5 separate regions of the Homo sapiens genome follow, and regions 1, 2, 3 and 5 are each linked to region 4. The links are contacts of gene promoters, found by promoter capture Hi-C in human tissues and cell types (Jung and others, 2019). All regions are on one chromosome and are shown on one strand. The core of a region is centred on a gene start or on the middle of the fragment in contact, and the rest is flanking DNA. Distances in the headings are between cores, read along the strand shown. Region 1 has its middle 370 kb from the start of ANKRD30A. Region 2 has its middle 400 kb from the start of ANKRD30A. Region 3 has its middle 230 kb from the start of ANKRD30A. Region 4 holds the start of GJD4 (gap junction protein delta 4). Region 5 has its middle 430 kb from the start of ANKRD30A.

Evidence for each region. Contacts are between HindIII fragments. The study calls those that stand out against the background at their distance.
Region 1: a contact is called between a fragment that was not itself captured here and the fragment with the promoter of GJD4 in region 4, in 1 of the 25 tissues and cell types used here (lymphoblastoid cells).
Region 2: a contact is called between a fragment that was not itself captured here and the fragment with the promoter of GJD4 in region 4, in 1 of the 25 tissues and cell types used here (dorsolateral prefrontal cortex).
Region 3: a fragment that was not itself captured here is called in contact with the fragment with the promoter of GJD4 in region 4 in 1 of the 25 tissues and cell types used here (dorsolateral prefrontal cortex).
Region 5: a fragment that was not itself captured here is called in contact with the fragment with the promoter of GJD4 in region 4 in 1 of the 25 tissues and cell types used here (lymphoblastoid cells).

What each region holds. Positions count from the first base shown.
Region 1 is chr10:36,754,848-36,757,547 of GRCh38, reverse strand. No RefSeq gene overlaps it. Among named protein-coding and RNA genes, the nearest start is that of ANKRD30A, 370 kb to the left of the region's middle. The HindIII fragment of the contact is 4,887 bases long and covers 1-2,700 here.
Region 2 is chr10:36,720,264-36,722,963 of GRCh38, reverse strand. No RefSeq gene overlaps it. Among named protein-coding and RNA genes, the nearest start is that of ANKRD30A, 400 kb to the left of the region's middle. The HindIII fragment of the contact is 5,063 bases long and covers 1-2,700 here.
Region 3 is chr10:36,896,587-36,899,286 of GRCh38, reverse strand. No RefSeq gene overlaps it. Among named protein-coding and RNA genes, the nearest start is that of ANKRD30A, 230 kb to the left of the region's middle. The HindIII fragment of the contact is 3,375 bases long and covers 1-2,700 here.
Region 4 is chr10:35,603,958-35,606,657 of GRCh38, reverse strand. GJD4 (gap junction protein delta 4) reads right to left here and starts at 1,317. Exons shown (of 2, transcript NM_153368.3): 1 at 1,027-1,317. The coding sequence starts at 1,090. GJD4-AS1 (GJD4 antisense RNA 1) reads left to right here. Exons shown (of 2, transcript NR_199600.1): 2 at 693-2,096. The HindIII fragment of the contact is 12,098 bases long and covers 464-2,700 here.
Region 5 is chr10:36,691,759-36,694,458 of GRCh38, reverse strand. No RefSeq gene overlaps it. Among named protein-coding and RNA genes, the nearest start is that of ANKRD30A, 430 kb to the left of the region's middle. The HindIII fragment of the contact is 3,989 bases long and covers 1-2,700 here.

The DNA of each region.
Region 1 (2,700 bases), core at 173-2,672, 1.2 Mb before region 4:
TAATTCTTGAAATTGTTTCAGGATTTGATATCTTAAATACTTTTAGAAGCACTATATCCTATAAATCCACTTAGAAATTTATAATTTCCCTTATCCATATTAAAGTTTCCTAGAAGACAGTTCAGTGGCTCACATGCATTCTTTTTTTTTTTTTTTGAGATGGAGTCTCACTGTCGCTTGGGCTAGAGTGCAATGGTGCGATCTCGGCTCACTGCAACCTCCCCTTTCCCGGTTCTAGTGATTCTTCCACCTCAGCCTCCCAAGTAGCTGGGATTACAGGTGTCTGCCACTATGCCCAGCTAATTTTTTGTATTTTTAGTAGTGACGGGGTTTCACCATGTTGGCCAGGCTGGTCTCGAACTTGTGAACTCGTGATTTGCCCGCCTTGGCCTTCCAAAGTTCTGGGATTACAGGCATGAGCCACCGCACCTGGCCTCACATGCATTCTTAATAATATCCTCAGGAACAACTAACCCATGATATTCTGAAAATAAATGAAATTTAAAAGCTGTTGGAACCCCTAATAACACATTAAGAGAGAAATGGCTGTGATCGGAGTCACATGCGGTTACTAAATGACATCAGGGACAAAAACCTCCTGCCTTCTTAATTAATGATCTTTGTTAGTGATTAACTTCCCCTCTGTTGTTTTGCTTAGACTAGAAGACAGAAAACCCACGACTACTACACTTTCTGTTAAAAAAAAATGTAAATATATCCTTCCTCAAGAGAAACACTGCATATAACCAATCATCGTTACCGTACAAAAGTGGTAACTATGTGCCACCCTTGTGTGAATGATGTGGTCCTGCTAAAAACTCCTGTCTGTTGGCCGGGCGCGGTGGCTCACGCCTGTAATCCTAGCACTTTGGGAGGCCGAGGCGGGCGGATCACGAGGTCAGGAGATCGAGACCATCCTGGCTAACACAGCGAAACCCCGTCTCTACTAAAAATACAAAAAATTAGCCAGGCGTGGTGGCCGGGCGCCTGTAGTCCCAGCTACTCAGGAGGCTGAGGCAGGACAATGGCGAGAACCCGGGAGGCGAAGCTTGCAGTGAGCTGAGATCTAGCCACTCACTGCACTCCAGCCTGGGCAACAGAGGGAGACTCCGTTTCAGAAAAAAAAAAAACAACAAACGAAAAACAAAAAAAAACCCCTCCTGTTTCTGTCTATATAAATGTACTCTTAACTTCCCTGCTTCAAAACACTGACTCCTTTCAAGCTGGAGTTTCCCAATGGTTCAAGTCACACTTGAATAAACTCTCTTTAAATTAGATTCTGACCCTTTTGATTATATTAGGTCAACAATGTATTTGGAGAAACAGTAGAACAAATTATCCCTAAATGCATTTTTTATCAAACTTTTTAAGAACAGTTTTCAATTTACATGAATATTATGAATATAATAACCCTTCCCCCTTACCCTGTTTCCTTTATTTTTAGTGTTGCTACATTTGTTACATTATCAATTTTTATACATTATTAACTAAAGCCCCTGCTTTAGTCAGACTTCCTTATCTTGTATCTAATCTTCTTCTGTTCCAGGGTTCCACCTAGGACACCACCACACTGCATTTAGTCAGTATCTTCTTAGGCTCCTCTTGATGACGAGAATTTCTCAGACTCCTTGTTTTTGATGACCTTGAGAATTTTGAGGAGTACTGGTCAGGAATTTTGTAAACTGACTTTTTTTTTTTTTTAATATGTTGGATTTTTTCCCCTTCATGTTTAAACTGGAGTTTGGGGTTTGAGGGAGAAAGACTGCAGAGATGAAGTGCCATTTTCACCATCTCACATCAAGGCTCAGACTCATCAACATGACTTACACCTGTTGATGTTGACCTTGATCACTTGTCTAAGGTAGTGCTCATCAGGTTTTTCTCCTGTAAAGCTACTGTTTTTGCCCCTTATTCATACTGTATTGTTTTTGGAAAGAACACTTAAGGAGGAAGAAATTATGTTCTACTTCCTTGAAAGCTAAGTGTCTACATAAATTATTTGGAATTCTTCTGCATGGGATATTTGTCCCGTCTCTCAATTATTTGTTTATTCAAAAATGTACTTATATGACTATTTGCTCACAGATATTTATTTTATATTTTGGATTATAATCCAATACTTCTTTATTTATTTTGTTGCTCAAATGTTCTAGCCTTGGCCACTGGGAGTGTTTACATTATGGGTTTTGGTGGTGGTGGTGTTTTTATACTTCCTTACTTTCTGGCCTAACTAGATGTTCCAGGCAGATCATGTATTATTTCCTGTTCTATTTCCATTTCTAGAATCAGTCATTTCTCCAAGGAGTCTGGTTTGCTTGATTGGAGTCATTAAAAACCAAGACTTAGGCTGGGCACAGTGGCTCATGCCTGTAATCCCAGCACTTTGGAAGGCCAAAGCGGGTGGATCACCTGAGGTCAGGAGTTTGAGACCAGCCTGGCCAACATAGTGAAACCCTGTCTCTACTGAAAATACAAAAATTAGCTTTGTGTGGTGGGGGGCGCCTGTAATCCCAGCTACTTGGGAGGCTGAGGCAGGAGAATTGCTTGAACTCGGGAGGCAGGGGTTGCAGTGAGCTAAGATCGTGCCATTGCACTCTAGCCAGGGCAACAAGAGCGAAACTGTTTCAAAACAAACAAAAACTCAAGAATTGAAGACTTAAGTGTTAGATATGCTCATTTCTGCTGGCATATCATTGGTTC
Region 2 (2,700 bases), core at 63-2,562, 1.1 Mb before region 4:
ATGAGCCACCGTGCCCAGCCGCCCGGCCCCATGTTCTTAATTGTTATGTTTCTCTACATCTCTGGCAGGTGGGTTGCCCAGTTTCTTTCTGTTAGAATGTGTACCTCACAGCAGGAGTATGAAGTGAGCTCCAAGGTATCTCTTCTTCCACTTCAGGGATGGCAGTTGGCAAATCATGCATAGTTTATAATAACAGTGCAGAGCAGTTCAGATCTATCAGCCTTGAAGACAGTGAAACATACTCCTGACTCTAAAAATACTCTGACGTGTATCATTGGTTTTCAATGCTACTTGGGTTTTTATCTCTTTTAAGGCATTCGGTATTTTAGCAGAGTTGCATTTGGGTAAAGTAGGAACTTGTAATATTTCCAGGTTAAACATTTTAACCTGGCAATTAACACTGGATGCATATTTTACAAAAAGGAGAAAATGCTATTATTTTGGCTGCTGGCAAAATAATTTTCCTTTGAGACCTGATTTTGTTTGGAACAAGCTTTGATGAGACAGTTTGGGTTAGAAGCTGAGCCTCCAGGAGTTGGGTGTAGACAGGTGGTAGGCTACAGAAAGAGTGAGAAGGTTCTCTTAATCATAGAAGAAGGAGAATAGTTGTACAGAGAAATGTGTGCAGAGAATCCTGAATGTGGACAAAGTAAAAGACAGAAAGAGAGTGCTGGTGAAATTACATGCAGCCTCTTTTTATTAACACTCAAGTTAATCTAGTGTTTTTAAAAATCAGAGGGTATTTAGTATAACTGGATTATTGAAAAAAAATGGTGAAGGAACTACATTTTGCAACTCAGGGACTGGTTGAAACAGAGGGAAAATGGGGTGGAACAAAGCCAGCATGCTCTTCTTCAAGTGCTTCAGGACAGCACCGCAGTGGATCCAGAGACTGCAGCAGTTTATCTGGAGTAAGTCATCACTTTTTATCTCTTTGTCAGAGGCAGCAGCCTTGATTCTCCTGGAAATAGAAACAACTGACATGTTGGATTGCAGCATCACTTTTATTAGGTTACCAGTTAAGCACCAAGTCGAATACCATCCCCAGACTGCTCAAAGGACAGGGCAGTGACCAACACATGCTATGATCCTCCAGAGCTCATGCATGGGACTGGGGGTCCATTATAATGGAAAGAAGAGCTTGCCTTTTTCACAAAGCCAACCCTCATAGCTACACTCCACTGCCCTCACAGCCGAACTTCTTCACACTTGCTATGTTTATTTTTTCTACTTAGCTCACACTCACCAAGCGAGCGACACAGGACCAAGTCATGGAAGGCTTTGTAAACATGGAGACGTGTTTTTATTACACTCCTTAAGATACACTTTTTTTATTTTAAAAGACACCAAAATATACCATTTTCTTTTTTTCTGGACAGTAGTGCTACACTGTCTTTATCCCACCCACTCTACTTTAAAAACTGATGAGAGAGAACATAAGCAAATTTTTTAGAGTACATCACTTTTTATTGAAGTATATCATATTTATAAGTCTAGAAGGAATAAGTCATGTCTTGATAAATTATCAGAAATGGATCACACACATGTAATCAGCACCAAGATCAGAAATATCAGACTCCCAAAAGTTGCCCATATAGGTACATTTGTCTTTCTCACAGGTAACTAATATCCTCACTTTTATCAGCATAGATTTGTTTTCCTATCTCTGAATTGTATACAAATAGAATCACACCAGAATCCCTGTTTTCTGTCTGACATCTTTCAGTCAAAATTGCTTGTGAGATAAATGCCTGGTATGTGTAGCAATCGTTTGTTGACTTCATTACATAGAATTCCATTGTGTAAATACACTCCAATATTTTAATGTTGATAAATGTTGGATAGTTTCCAGTTTGGCAGTGTGGCTTCTATAAACATTCTTGCATGTCTTTTGAAAACTATATGTACATATTCATGAGAATATGCCTGAGAGAGAGGAACTGCTGGATCATAGGGGATGCCCATGTTTAGCTTTTAGTAGATACTGTTCAAGAGTTTTTCAAAATCATTATATTAATTAACACTCCCACCAGTTGTGTAGGAGAGAATTCCTGTTGCTCTTTATCTTTGTCAGCACTTTGTATTGTCTTTTTATTTTAGCCATTATAGGGAATGTCTTGTGCTATTACATTGTGACTTTACTTTGCATCTCCCTGAGGATTATTAAATATGGACATTTTTCAGCCGGGCACGGTGGCTCACACGTGTAATCCCAGCATTTTGGGAGGCTGAGGTGGACGGATCACGAGTCAGGAGGTCGAGACCATCCTGGCTAATATGGTGAAACTCCGTCTCTACGAAAAATACAAAAAGTTAGCCGGGCGTGGTGGTGGGCACCTGTAGTCCCAGCTACTGGGGAGGCTGAGGCAGGAGAAATGGCGTGAACCCAGGAGGTGGAGGTTGCAGTGAGCCGAGATGGCGCCCCTGCACTCCAACCTGGGCGACAGAGGGAGACTCTGTCTCAAAAAAAACAAAAGGACATTTTTCATATGTTTATAAAATAGTTGAAGTCATATTCTTTGAAGTACCTTTTCAAGTTGTTTGGCTATCTTCAAAATTACATTGTCTTTATCTTATTAATTTTTAGGTATTCTTTATTTTGGATATGAGTTTTTAGTTTGTATACAACACACTGTGGCCTATCTTTTCACTCTCTCATGTGGAATATTTTGATAAAAGTTTTTAATCCTAATATATTTT
Region 3 (2,700 bases), core at 90-2,589, 1.3 Mb before region 4:
TGTGCAAGCTGGCCCAAACACCAAGGGAAATAGTGTCTCTGATCTGGACATCCAACATGAAGCTGCATCTTCTCACGAGACCAGAGGATCAACACTCAGTGGGGTCTCAGTGTTTTAAAATCACTGATCCGCAGAAACAGTGCAGCCCAGTCTGCTAGTCTGAAGTGTTTCACTCATACAGGGCATCACCTAAGAAAAAACTAGAAATAGGAGGAGTGGAGCCAAGATGGCTGAATAGGAACAGCTCCAGTCTACAGCTTGCAGCGTGAGTGACACAGAAGACAGTGATTTCTGCATTTCCAACTGAGGTACCAGGTTCATCTCACTGGGGAATGCCAGACAGTGGGTGCAGGACAGTGGGTGCAGCGCAACATGCATGAGCCGAAGCAGGGCAAGGCATCGCCTCACCCAGGATGTGCGAGGGATCAGGGAATTCCCTTTCCTAGTCAAAGAAAGGGGTGACAGACAGCACCTGGAAAATTAGGTCACTCCCACCCTAATACTGCGCTTTTCCAACGGGCTTCACAAACGGCACACCAGGATATTATATCCCGCACATGACTCGGAGGGTCCTACGCCCACGGAGCCTTGCTCATTGCTAGCACAGCAGTCTGAGATCAAACAGCAAGGCGGCAGCAAGGCTGGGGGAGGGGCGCCCACCATTGCTCAGGCTTGAGTAGGTAAAAAAAGTGACCCAGAAGCTCGAAGTGGGTGGAACCCACCACAGCTCAAGGAGGCCTGCCTGCCTCTGTAGGCTCCACCTCTGGGGGCAGGGCACAGACAAACAAAAGACAGCAATAACCTCTGCAGACTTAAATGTCCCTGTCTGACAGATTTGAAGAGAGAAGTGGTTGTCCCAACATGCAGCTTGAGATCTGAGGACGGGCAGACTGCCTCCTCAAGTGGGTCCCTGACCCCCGAGTAGCCTAACTGGTAGGAACCCCCCAGTATGGGCAGACTGAAACCTCACACGGCTGGGTACCCCTCTGAGACAAAACTTCCAGAGGAACGATCAGGCAGCAGCATTTGCGGTTCACCAATATCTGCTGTTCTGCAGCCACCGCTGCTGATACCCAGGCAAACAGTGTCTGGAATGGACCTCCAGTAAACTCTAACAGACCTGCAGTTGAGGGTCCTGACTGTTAGAAGAAAAACTAACAAACAGAAAGGACATCCACACCAAAACCCCATCTGTACATCACCATCATCAAAGACCAAAAGTAGATAAAACCACAAAGATGGGGAAAAAACAGAGCAGAAAAACCAGAAACTCTAAAAATCAGAGCGCCTCTCCTCCTCCAAAGGAACGCAGCTCCTCACCAGCAATGGAACAAAGCTGGACGGAGAATGACTTTGACGAGTTGAGAGAGGAAGGCTTCAGAAGATCAGACTACTCCGAGCTAAAGGAGGAAGTTCGAACCAACGGCAAAGAAGTTAAAATCTTTGAAAAAAAATTAGACGAATGGAAAACTAGAATAATCAATGCAGAGAAGTCCTTAAAGGATCTGATGGAGCTGAAAACCATGGCACAAGAAATACCTGACGAACGCACAAGCCTCAGTAACCGATGTGATCAACTGGAAGAAAGGGTATCAGCGATGGAAGACGAAATGAATGAAATGAAGAATGAAGAGAAGATTAGAGAAAAAAGAATAAAAAGAACAAAGCCTCCAAGAAATATGGGACTATGTGAACAGACCAAATCTACATCTGATTGGTGTACCTGAAAGTGACGGGGAGAATGGAACCAAGTTGGAAAACACTCTGCAGGATATTATCCAGGAGAACTTCCCCAATCTAGCAAGGCAGGCCAACATTCACATTCAGGAAATACAGAGAATGCCACAAAGATACTCCTCGAGAAGAGCAACTCCAAGACACATAATTGTCAGATTCACCAAAGTTGAAATGAAGGAAAAAATGTTAAGGGAAGCCAGAGAGAAAGGTCAGGTTGCCCACAAAGGGAAGCCCATCAGACTAACAGTTGATGTCTCGGCAGAAACTCTACAAGCCAGAAGAGAGTGGGGGCCAATATTCAACATTTTTAAAGAAAAGAATTTTCAATCCAGAATTTCACATCCAGGAAAGCTAAGCTTCATAAGTGAAGGAGAAATAAAATACTTTACAGACAAGCCAATGCTGAGAGATTCTGTCACTAACAGGCCTGCCCTAAAAGAGCTCCTGAAGGAAGCACTAAATGTGGAAAGGAACAACCAGTTCCAGCCACTGCAAAAACATGCCAAATTGTAAAGACCATCAAGACTAGGAAGAAACTGCATCAACTAATGAGCAAAATAACCAGCTAGCATCATAATGACAGGATCAAATTCACACATAACAATACTAACCTGAAATGTAAATGGGCTAAATGCTCCAATTAAAAGGCACAGACTGGCAAATTGGATAAAGAGTCAAGACCCATCAGTGTGCTGTATTCAGGAAACCCATCTCACATGCAGAGACACACATAGGCTCAAAATAAAGGGATGGAGGAAGATATACCAAGCAAATGGAAAACAAAAAAAGGCAGAGGTTGAAATCCTAGTCTCAGATAAAACAGACTTTAATCCAACAAAGATCAAAAGAGACAAAGAAGGCCATTACATAATGGTAAAGGTATCAATTCAACAAGAAGAGCTAGCCCAATACAGGAGCACCAAGATTCATAAAGCAAGTCCTTAGAGACCTACAAAGAGACTT
Region 4 (2,700 bases), core at 68-2,567:
ATAAAAACAAAACAAAAATAAATATGTAAAGACAGTCAAACAAAGAATAATATCATTATGTGATGAGTCATTGAGTTGAACTTTTAACATCAAGTTGGTTTTGTCTAAATCTACAAAATAATGAGCCAGAAAAGTATCAACTGCATCTCCGGCATATATTCATCCTTTTCTGACCCCCATACCTCTCTGAAAATGTGAGTCGTCTGCATTAAACAAAAATCTATTATTTTCTTTGTTAAAAAAAATAACTAAACTTGGGATTTGGTTTAAAGTGCACAAGAGAAATGGCTACTCCTTAAAAATTAAGCTTCCAGGCCAGGCGTGGTAACTCACGCCTGTAATCCCAGCACTTTGGGAAGCCAAGGCGGGTGGCTCACGAGGTCAGGAGATCGAGACCATCCTGGCTAACACGGTGAAACCCCGTCTCTACTAAAAACACAGAAAATTAGCTGGGCGTGGTGGCAGGCGCCTGTAGTCCCAGCTACTCGGGAGGCTGAGGCAGGAGAATCACTTGAACCCGGGAGGCAGAGGTTGCAGTGAGCTGAGATTGCATCACTGCACTCCAGCCTGGGCAACAGAGTGAGACTCTGTCTCCAAAAACAAAAAAAAAAAACCAAGCTTCCAGAATAAAACCTAAAGGTATCACCTTCTGATTAACATTTGTTGTTCTGTTCCTTTTCCTGGTAACGTAGCCACACCAGGGTTGCACACAAACACCCCTCCACCTGCTTTGGTCTTTGGAGTCAGCACCCCAGTGTCAGCACAGGATGATCTGTGAGAGAACAATGTCAAACGCAAGACTCCCTTACATGACGGAGGAACCGCGGAACCATTCAAAGAAACTAGAAGCCTCAGCTCTCTTCCCTCCAGAAAGGCACAGCCCTTTCTTTTGGGAGTGGGTGGACTTTCAGCTTGGTGCTTGCACACTGAAAATGAGTAAATACCTGGACCCTTTAAGGACTCAATTCCACCATGGCAGTGGAAATAAAAACAGCGCAGGAGTTTGGAGATGGTCCCAATACTCACCCACCATGGTCACGTTGCAGTTTAATGTGATGATGAGAAACCCTAGCAAGTCCACGCCTTCCATGCTTCCAGAATGTCCCAGGCTCCAGGCTGCAGGAGACACTGGAGGGCTGTGTTCTCCAAGGAGGCGGATAAATGTCCTTTAACTACATAAGACTTAAAGGTGTGAGCTGGAGATAAGAAAGCAAAGGTCTGAGCCAGGAGTAGGAGGTGGGTTTTTCTGTCTCCAAGTTGAGACGGCCCTAAGCCGTTTGCCTCTGAGGCGAAACATTCCTGACAACTGCAGTGACCAGCAGAGCAAGCAGCAGTCATCTCTTATTGTGGGCTATTCTTACTCGCCTGGGATATTCCCGGCCTGTGGCAGCGCTCATATGTCCCCACCAGGACAGCCAGATGCTTCAGGATATAATAGCAGCAACTACTTTTAACCCAAGAAAGAAAACTTCTGCTAACTAGCCAAGTAAATTTCTCTATTAAAAAGGCATTTCCTCCTTGAAAACATTTCCACAACCACTTCACTTGTGCAAGAAGCCCTTAAAGTGTTCACGTTTTGTCTTCTCAATCAAGCATGAATCGCCATGCCACCATCACACGAACCCACAAGGATCTCGCCCTTATTCTGAATTCCTGTGTCATTGGTGCAGGCAGAAATCTGAAACTCAGTTGGGTGTCCCAACTTTAGACCGTGACTTGGTTATTCTCCTGCTGCTTCCTGTGCAGTGAGTGACAACTCTTCGCTTGGAGACAAAAGCCTGGGTGCAAAGCCCGGGGCAGCCCCCTACTCACTGGGGAAGTCATTGGATCCTTCCAGATAGCCTCATCTTGCAATAAGGAGAATCATGCCATTCCACTTGCCATTTGTGGGAGGCTTATGTGAAATGATGGTGTAGAATAAGAGCAACTGGTGTGAAGTGGGTGTACGACAACCCATATCCGTGGGATTTCAATCCCTAATTGGCCTCTACGACCTTCACAGATTACATCTTCCCTTTGTATCTCCCAGCCCCATCTAGCCTGGAGCTGTTCCCATTGAATCTACTTAATAAATGTCTGTTAAATCTGTCATGAAATATCACGGTCTGGACCTGCTGACATCAATCACAGTTGCGTCAAAATCCTATCGCTGCAGCCACCTTCATATCTGGGAAGAACCCATCCTGCAGGGTTGGGGATCTATGATCAGGGTGGAAATTGTAAACTTTAAAAGGAATGATTTCAATTTTCCATGAAAGCTATTCTTTATATCCCCATCTTTTCTTCATTTCTGATCTATTCTTGACTTTAGTAATATCCCTAGAAAGATTCCCAGAAGAGTGCAACAAAGCTACTTTCATCTTTGCTCACATGACATGCTCCCATCCACGGAAAACGTTTTGACCCCCTTGAAAGGAACAGTGGTTTTGCTATATTTTAGTCAAATGCTTCGACATGAGCAAGGAAATTTGAGAAATTGTAGTTAAGTAAAAATATTGAAATAGTCACAGGGTGTAAGTATAAAATAAAGGAGAATTTGTCTCCTAATAGACTGCTCATGGTATTGGCTTTAAAAAAAAAATGAAATATCAGGAAAGCAATTACTGACTCTTGCTGTGTGATAGAAATAGCCCATCCCAAATGTGGAATAAATTAGCCCTGCGCGACCATGAGCAAATCACTGCAGCTTTTCATGCTTCG
Region 5 (2,700 bases), core at 163-2,662, 1.1 Mb before region 4:
TTCTTTAGCTCTAATATACTTTATCTAATGCTCATATAGCTAATTTTCAGCTGGGCACGGTGACTCATGCCTGTAATCCCAGTACTTTGGGAGGCCGAGGCAGGCGAATGACGAGGTCAGGAGATGGAGACCATCCTGGCCAACATGGTGAAACCCCGTCTCTACTAAAAATACAAAAGTTAGCTGGGCATGGTGGCGTGTGCCTGTAATCCCAGCTACTCAGGAGGCTAAGGCAGGAGAATCACTTGAACCAGGGAGTCGGAGGTTCCAGTGAGCTGAGATTGCGCCACTGCACTCCATCCTAGAGACAGAGTGAGACCCTGCCTGAAAAAAACATTATGTATATATATAGAGAGAGAGAGAGAGAGAGAGTGAATTTTATTTCTTTTGATTAATTTTTCATACTATGTATTTTTTCTATTTTTACTTTGCACCTATCTTTATTATCACATTTGAGTTTCTTATAGACAGTATACAGTTAGATCATATTGTTTTTTGTTTTACTGTGAGGAAGTCATATTTTAATTTATTCTGCTAGGTTCTGTCTTTTCTTTGGTGTACTTAGACCATTTACACTTAATGTGATTATTGATATATGAGTGCTTAAGTCTGCCATTTTATTTTTTTGTTTTCTATTTGTGCTTTCTGCTTCTTGCTTCTCTTATTTTATTGATTTTTTTGTTGCCTTTCTGTGAGTTACTTGAACTTTTTTTTTTTTTTTTTTTTTTTTTTTGAGACGGAGTTTCGCTCTGTCGCCCAGGCTGGAGTGCAGTGGTGCAATCTCGGCTCACTGCAAGCTCCACCTCCCGGGTTCACGCCATTCTCCTGCCTCAGCCTCCCCAGTAGCTGGAACTACAGGTGCCCGCCACCACGCCAGGCTAATTTTTTGTATTTTTAGTAGAGACGGGGTTTCACCGTGTTAGCCAGGATGGTCTTGATCTCCTGACCTTGTGTTCTGCCCGCCTCGGCCTCCAAAGGCTGGGATTACAGGCGTGAGCCACCGCCCCCGGCCACTTGAGCATTTTAAAGAATTCCATTGTGATTTATCTCTAGTGATTTTACATGTATCTTTTTATATAGGTTTTTTTGTAGGTGCGCTAGGTGTAAGATTTTATATTATATATACCACATATAATCTAATATTACATTAATTATATAATTTATAATAATTTATGTATAAAACACTTTATTGGTGTTGTCATTTTAAGTGAAGTGTAGAAATCTTATCTCTATTTCTCTTCCTTTCCTCTCCTATATTTATAATTGTCTTAAATATTTGCTGTACAAACATTTACCGAACTATCATACAGTGTTATAATTTTCACTTGCACCATCATACCTAATTTTGAAAACTCAGGAAGGGTCTATTTGTCAGGAGCTCAGCTGAGTTGGAGACAGCTAAGCTGTCAGGTGTCAGAGTAGCCAAGTAAAGTGATGAAGCGGGAGAGTTCGCTGATTCCCCTGGCAGGACGCAGGATGTGCGGCAGGGGTGTGGCTTGCCTGTTCAGTGGTGCCGCCTGCTCAAACCCCTTGGCAGGAGGGAGAGGATGCAGACAGTCAGGCGCAGAGGCTGGGGCAAGCGCTTTGGGCTCTGGCTCCTCGGTAGGTAGTGTCTGAGGAGGGTGCCTGCAACCCCCCCCCCGTTATAAAGCTCTTTCAGCTCTGCCGCCTGCAGAGGCTTGAGTGTTAGTCAGCTCAATGAATCCTCTGCCTTTTGGCAAGGGCAGAGGGCCAGTGTGACAGCTTTCTCTATTCCGAGGTCTTGCCCAGCATCACGGAAAACTTGGGTCACACACGGGCTTGAAGGATGAATGCGAAGTTTTATTGAGTGGTGGAGGTGGCTTTCAGCCGGATGGATCGGGGGCCGCAATGGGGAGATGGAGAGGGAAGGCGATCTTCCTCCGGAGCCGGAGCTGGGCCACTCAGCTGCTGGACTCCTCTCCAACGGCCCCCGCTAAACTCCTCTGGGTGTTAGATGTTCCTCCTCTTCTCTCTTTCTCTGCCGCATCCCTTCTCCAACCATCGCTGATCTGGTGGCTTACTGGTCGGCTTCTGGAGCCTGGGGTTCAGGGTATATATGCATGGGTGCAGGATAGGGGGTGTGGCAGGACAAAAGGCAACTTTTGGGTTGTGAAAACAGGAATGCTTGTTCTCATGTAGGGCCGAGGGTATCCAGGCTTGAGGGTGGGGCCTTTGCCTGGGAACTGCTCCTTTCTACTCAGTTTTCCCTGTCTCCTGTCCGTATCAGTGACAAACCAGAAATGAAAGCCACTGAGCAGTGGTTTTAATCCCTTACTCTTATGGTATCACCAAGAGTCTGAAACAGAGTGCTGGGTCTGCCCTACTCTACCTTCCCCTATGGATTGGTGCAATGGCTGAGGGCCAGGTGGATCAGCATGATGTGGAGATTGCCTCAAGTAAAAGGCTAGTGCAATATTACAGACCCTGCGACTGGGGACCACCAGGAGGATGGAGAAAGGGAAGGGCACGGGTGGAAAGTACTGAGTATTGAGTCAGAGTAGGAAAAAGTGGCTTGAAGCTTTCCCCCTTTCTCTCGGATAAATTCTCAGCAGAGGCCAGTGAAGAAGACTTCTGCTCAAGGCCTCAGATAGAGAGTTCCAGGAATGGACAGGTCTGGGCTAGGAATATGCCCAAGAGCATGCCTGGCCCAGAGGCCCCTGAGTCCCTGACATCAACTCC